Linked DNA regions of Homo sapiens: region 1 is linked to region 2. Evidence: promoter capture Hi-C in 16 types of primary human blood cells and fetal thymus (Javierre and others, 2016). All regions are on one chromosome and are shown on one strand. The core of a region is centred on a gene start or on the middle of the fragment in contact, and the rest is flanking DNA. Distances in the headings are between cores, read along the strand shown.

What was found. Contacts are between HindIII fragments. The CHiCAGO score rates a contact against its expected background, and 5 or more counts as called.
Region 1: a contact is called between a fragment that was not itself captured here and the fragment with the promoter of PSTPIP1 in region 2, in 1 of 17 cell types (erythroblasts). The highest score is 7.1, in erythroblasts.

The regions. Positions count from the first base shown.
Region 1 is chr15:77,562,602-77,565,928 of GRCh38, reverse strand. No RefSeq gene overlaps it. Among named protein-coding and RNA genes, the nearest start is that of LINGO1, 69 kb to the left of the region's middle. RefSeq lists an enhancer at 1-550. The HindIII fragment of the contact is 878 bases long and covers 990-1,867 here.
Region 2 is chr15:76,993,833-76,997,146 of GRCh38, reverse strand. PSTPIP1 (proline-serine-threonine phosphatase interacting protein 1) reads right to left here and starts at 2,021. Exons shown (of 15, transcript NM_003978.5): 1 at 1,538-2,021. The coding sequence starts at 1,573. RefSeq lists a silencer at 1,837-2,026 and an enhancer at 2,267-2,316. The HindIII fragment of the contact is 6,151 bases long and covers 1-3,314 here.

The DNA of each region.
Region 1 (3,327 bases), core at 179-2,678, 570 kb before region 2:
TCCTTGGCTAGAAGAGAGTGGAACGTGGGCACCCACAGAGGACGGGAGTCGGTACAGGGAGGGCAGCCTGGATCTGCAAAGACAAGGACCCTGGCCTAGCCCAGGACGTGGCTCTGGTTGGAGGGGGCGGGCAGTGGAACGAGCCCCCTCGGCTGCTCTGCGGGCAGCGGGGTCAGGGTGCAGAGGGAATGGATGGGAAGGGCTAGGGTGGGCTTATGTGTGGGTGCGTGTGAGCGCGCATGTGTGGAAGGAGTGACGCGCGCGCTGGCTGCCGCGTGGGGAAGGGGGAGCTAGCCTCATTGCTGCAGATTTGTATTCCTGCCGACTTTTATTTCAGGCCTTGTTTATTTCTCCTTAAAACGCGGCTGCTATGCCAAGAGTCGTACCCAAATTAGCTGCGAGTGTGTAATTTTACAGCTATTACCCGGGTGTTTCTGTGACTTGGGTAATAACTAGGGAAATATAAACAAACAACAGCAAAGGCAGTTTAGCAAGGAGGCCTCTGAGTTCGGTGTCTCTGTTTTGAAGTGGAACAAGTCCCATCTCTCCCCTGTCCCCATTCCCACCACCCCTCTCTGAGTCGCATCTGGCCCAGTAACTGGGGATTGGGAGGCCCAAGGGTCCCAGAGCCCCAGCCGTGAAATCCTCCTCTCGTTGCCCCTCCCCCGGGAAAACAGGCCCATCCCCAGAGGCACAGTCCCACCTACCCACAGCGAAGACCCCCTCATGCTCCTCCTCCACAAAGGCAAACAAAGGCTGGCCTAATTCTGTGATATTTCCCTTCTCTGGTGGCTAATGGCACCAGAGCGTGTGTGACATTTCGCTCTCTCTCCTCTTTTATTCCCGCTTATTATCTGGCTGCTGCCAGAGGCTCTGGGCTGAGGCCGGCACTGGCACCCACTCCACCCTATCCCTCCTCCTCTTTGCCTCTGTCCCTTTTACTCTCCCTCACAGTACCTTCGTCATCTCCTCCCAAGAGGGACAAAGCTTGTCCCTCATCCTCCAGGCCCCCTCTGAGGGAAATGGGTCCCAGCAGAGGTCTGTGCTGGGAGGGGGTGGCCTTGGGCACCCAAGATGGGGGCAGGTCCTCAGGACCCCGCATCTCACCTTGGCTCCAATGCAGCCTCACAGAAGCCTCCGGTGTATCCCTCCCTCCTCCGTGCCTCAGTTTGCCTCTATCTGTGCCATGAAGAGGTGAGTCTTGATCCCGAAGGCTCTTCCTGCTCTAGTATTGAAAGTGAACCCCTAAAGGCTTGAGGGATGGCAAAGCCATCGAGGGGTTTTATGGGGCTGTGGGGAGTCTAGGCTGTGGGATTTGCAGCAAGAGGGGTGGGCTTGGGCCAGGAGTCGAGGCAGAGCCAGGGAGCCAGGGCAGAGGAGAAAAAGCTGGAGATCCCTGTGTGGGCAGCTGGCCTCCATTTCAACACACACAGTCTTTGAAAATGCTAACTTTGTTTTTCTTCCAAATAATCTTCATTTTTAAAAAATTACAGAAAGAAAGCAAAAGACCTCAAACTCCCTCTTGTCTCCCCCAGAGGCAACCCCTGTGAATGCTTCACTGTGTATCATTGCCAGCTTTTTCTGAGGTGTCCCTGTTCTATATTTTTTTATACACAGACTTTTTTAAGAAAACAAAAATTGGGTCATGGCATACATATTGATCAGCCACTTGCTTTTTTCCCTCACCAATATATCATGGACACCTTCCAGGTCGGTACAAAAGGATCAATTTTTAAATGGCCACAGGGTGCTCCATTGTACTGCAGGACCACCAGCCCCACACGGAGGGACATCTGGGCTATCTTCAGTTTGGAGCTGTATCTGTTTTCTGGCAGAATAAATAATGGTTACCTGACAACCCAAAGCTTAGCGTCTTAAAGCAAGCGTTTATTATGTTCGCAAGTCTCCAAGTCAGCTGGGCAGCCGTGGGCTGGGCTGGGCTGGGCTGGGCTGGGCTGACTCCCAGATGGGCTCCCTCACAAGTCTGTGGTCAGCAGGAGGATTGACCGGGGCTGCTGGTCTAGGATGGCCTCACCTGGGATGACCCACTTCTTTTCCTCATGTCTCTCATCCTACAGCAGGCCAGCTTGAGCTTGTCCTCATAAATCATGGGGTGGAAATGAGAGTTCAGAAAGAAACCCTCACATTATGGTCAATTGCCTTTCAACAAGAGAGCCAAGACCATTCAATGGGAGAAAGAATGGTCTTTTTGACAAATGATGCTGGGACAACTGGATGTTCATATGCAAAAGAATGAAGCTGGATCCCCTTCCTTGTGACAGGCACAAAAATGATCTCAACATGGGTCAGAGACCTAAATATCAGGGCTGAGGCTAGGGAAGGCCAGGTTGCTGGGGCCAGAGGTGGGAGAGAGTTGGATTAGCCCCTAGTGAGGCCCTCTGGGTCTTCTACAGTGATCGTCATGATTACTTTTTCCTTGGACTTTTGAGGTTGGCAAGTGTCAGTAACAGATCCTGGGGTGAATCAGTTGACACAAGAAGGCTTTGTAAAGATTTTTCATCCCTCTCCCAGTTTATCTGCTTTGGGGTTGGTGGGAGTGGGAATTGGTACAAACTTTGGGGGACAATTTTGCAGTTAATCGCACCATCCCTCAAGAATGCAAGAACCTTAGCACCCCCTCATCTCTCCTTTGCCATCTACAGAAATACCAGCCTCATGGAATAGAATGGTGTCCCTCACAGAATTGCTTCTAACCGCCTCTTTGTAGATCAATCACAAAAGTGGCCCCACACCTCCCTGTATCTACCCCTTTCCAATGTCACTTTGCAGCTCAGTCCATTAAGAGGTGGAGTCAGTTTCTTCATCCCTTGAATCTGGACTGCCTTTGGCCATTGAATGTGGTGGCAGCGACTCTGAGCCAGTCCCAAGTATACACCTGAACAGTTTCTGTATACTGCCACTGGCTCTCTTGGAAGCCTGGTCAGGATCTGCTATGAATACTTGCCAACCTCAAAAGTCAAGGAAGAAATAATCACGACAATCACTGTAGAAGACCCAGGGGGCCTGAATAGGGGCTAACCCAACCCTCTCCCACCTCTGGCCCCAACAGCCTGGCCTTCCCCAGCCTCAGCCCAGAAATTTAGGGCTCTCTCCCCATGGATATTACAAACAATAGAACAAAGGGGTGTACACCTTTTGCGATATTGAGAGACATGTCATCACCCCCCCCAAATATTATGAACAATATTACAGGGGGTGTACACCCCCTGAGATATTGGGAGTAATATCATTCTCTCCCACCCTGGATATTATGAACAATATCACCAAGGGTGTACGTACAGGGTGTTTATGATATTGAAAGTAATA
Region 2 (3,314 bases), core at 772-3,271:
TGCTTGCTTCTGCTGCGGCTGCCATACCCTGCTCCCTTATACGCCACCCCTACCTGTGCCCAGATCCTGCCATGGAGGCTGCTCCTTGCCCAGCTCTGCCCTAGGGAAGGCAGGCCCAGGGGCTCTAGGACTGGACAGAGGTCTCAGTGATAAAATAGTCAAGGGGTCCTGGCCTGCCCTGGGCTACAGAGTGGCCTGGGTTTCCAGGCCCTACCCCTTCCCCCAACTTTGCACACCAAGGCAGGGCAGCTAGGTGGTGACTCACATCCCCCATCCCCCAGGGCTCCAGCTGCCAGCCTGGGCCCTGAGCATCCTGGTGCCTGGTCCTCCGGATGGGCTGAGGCAGCTCTGCCTCCATTGGCTTCTCTGGGCTGGGCCCACCCTGTCTTTGTAGAGATGGGGAAACTGAGGCCCAGAAAGGCACAAGGTGCCCTCCCCACGTGGGGTCCTTTGCCTACTGTACAGTCAGAGCAGAGGAAGCAGAACACTCACACGCTGGCCACAGGCCCCAAGTGGAGCCGGCCGGAAGGGAAGGAAGGCCTGGCTCCATAGCTCTCATCCTCCTGGCTGCAGCCCCAGGAAAAGGCCCGGGGAGGGCAGGGCTGTTGGCTGGGGCTCAGCCGGCTGAGCCGAGGGCCAGAGCGTCCTCTTCGGGGTTGGAGGCAGCACCCCGGGACAGCCACATTCCCCAGCTCCAACCAGAGAGGTCTCAGTTTTTCCCCAGAGCCCTGGGCACAGCCAGAGCTGAGGGGCAGAGGGGTAGTTGAAGGACAGCTGGAAAAGTGCTGAGATGACCAGGGGTCCAAGCTGGGCTGCAGGCTACGTGGCCCGGGCCAAGCCACTTTACCTCTACCACTGGCTGGGCGCCCTTATTTCATGGGGGAAATGACTTGATTTAAGCCCGTGTTGAATTTAAGAAAGTAAGCAAGCCATTGCCCACCTGGCTGCCTCCTTGAAGGACCCCTAAGGTCTGCAAGGGACAAGGGGCTGGGTGAGGGGAACAGAATTACCATTTGGAGTGAGGCAAGGTGCTGGGGGCTTTAGTGCCTTGGATCCCCTTGCTGATCCAATGCTTTAGTTGGTGTGTTGATTTCTATTTTATCACCATTATATAGATGGAGAGACTGAGGCTTGGAGACAGAAATGACTTGCCCAGCCTGTAACAGAGCCAAGACCTGAACTCAAGTTTGTCTGGTCTCTAAATCTGTGACCCCTCCTTTGCTGCCCCACACATCCTCCTCAAGCCCCCACCCATGTGTTACCCTCTTCTGAGGAGCTCCTGCTGTGGGGAGAGGTCTCCCAGAGGAGAAAACACACGGGGCAGCAGAGAGGAGGACGCTCATTCACGGAGTCCACTTGCGTTCCAGTCCAGAAGGGGTGGGGGCCTGGGCCACCTCCATGACAATTAAGACCAAGAATCAACCACTATTTTATGAGAAAGCTCCCCTCTCGGAGCCGCATCCCATCACCTGCATGGAGATTTCAGCCTAGCTCTGCCCCCTCCACTTGTTCAGTGCCCCCAACCATCCTCACTCACCCAAAAGGCATCTTTGAACTGCAGCTGGGGCATCATCCTCAGGCGTCTGCCGCGGCAAAGCTCACTCTCCTGCCACAGGCTGGCCTGATGGAGGGCCAGGCGCCAGCAGCAGCGTCCCAGTCCTGGCAGGGCTGGCCCAGGCCCCCCTTCCCGGCCGGCGCCGTCTGCAACACTCAGAAGGCAGCCACGAGCCAGAGAGGAGCTTCTGAGGGGAGGAAAAAGCTCAACCTGTTTTGTTTGGGGCTAGAATCAGCAGCAAAATGAGGAAGGAGTGGAGCTCAGTGATGGGAGGGCGGGCCCTGGTGTCCAGCCCAGCCCCTCACCGACCCTGCGGTGATGGAGGACACAGTCTGGGACCCAGGGCAGGGAGCAGGGATGCCAGCCCTGGGTGGGAGGCAGTGGCCAGTGGAAGAGGCAGGCTGGAGCTCGGGCCGGGCCAGGCAGGCAGGCAGGCAGGCAGCCCGAGGCCTGCGCAGGAAGGTTTGTGCAACCTCCCCCGGGGCAGGCACAGGGCCCTCGCCCACAGGAAGTGGAGTTGCTGTGCTCCCCTGTGCAGCCCCGCCTGCCACCTGCCATCCTGCTCCTGCCTCTGCTTGCCCCCTCCCGAGGTGCGGGCTCACTTTATTCCAGAGGCCATATGCTAAGGGAGCTTGAGGCCCACTGACAGTGTGGCCAGGAGGGGCCCAGGAACCCCAGGTGTGTCACCCGCCAGCCAGTCCAGCACCCTTCCAGGCTGGGCCCAGAGATGCCAGACTCCCCACCCCGCACTAGCAAGTCATTCTGGAGGGGCTTACCCAGGTCTAGGGCATCTGTCATTCATCAAACCCTGGCTGCTCTGGGACCCAAACCAGGTCCTGCCCTCAAGGAGCCCATAGTCTGGGAGCAGACACAGCTGTGCTCTGGGGGGCTGTGAGCACACAGAGGCAAGGTGAGCAGGCAGCAAGATGAGGGAGAACAGCCTGAGGCCCCGGCACTGCCCCCACCACCACCACCGCCACCACCGCAAGTCTCCAGATTAGACGCTGTTTGGGGCAGAGAACCCCCTTCTGAAGATGGAGGCTTCCGGCTCAGTGAATGGGAATGGATGGAGAGAGAAACAGGATTATCAAGGCACAGAGTGGGGTGTTTGGAAACCCAGTCTGAGGCCCAGTTTTTGTTTAATTTTGACCCCACCTTTCAGGGGCTGAGGGACCTTAATAGACCCCCCAACTCGCTGAGCCTCAGCTTCCTCATCTGCCACACCCAGTCTTTGGAAAGTAGACGGTGTCGAGAATATTTCTGGAATTTCCAGTTTGGTGGGCAGGTGCTGGGGGCACTGTGTGGTACCACCTTAGGAAGAGCCCTGGACTAGAGCCCCAGCCCCAGCCCTGAGACGCCACGCCCTGCCGGCTCAGCAGAAGATGCAGCAGGAAGTCCTGAGCCCAGGGCAGGCTGGCAAAATGGGGTGAGTCAGGGATTGTCCGCAAATCACCACCCTCACTGATGTCTGCCTTACAGCTGACGGGGTGATAAGATGAGAGCTGCTGCAGATGAAATAGTTGAGCTCCCAAGTGCCCATTATGCATGCCCAGGGTTTAGAGAGAGGGGGCACACCCAGGCTCTGAAATAGCCACCCAAGAGGAAACACTTTGGGGAGGATTGCAGAGCAATGGGACTGCCCCCAGAAGGCCCTCACCTCCAGAAACCTTGGATTTGAGCTAATCTTTAATCTGTAAGGCGCCCCAGTCAGGTTTTTTGTTACTTGCAGCTGAAGACAATTAATAGTGTAAAAATCCCC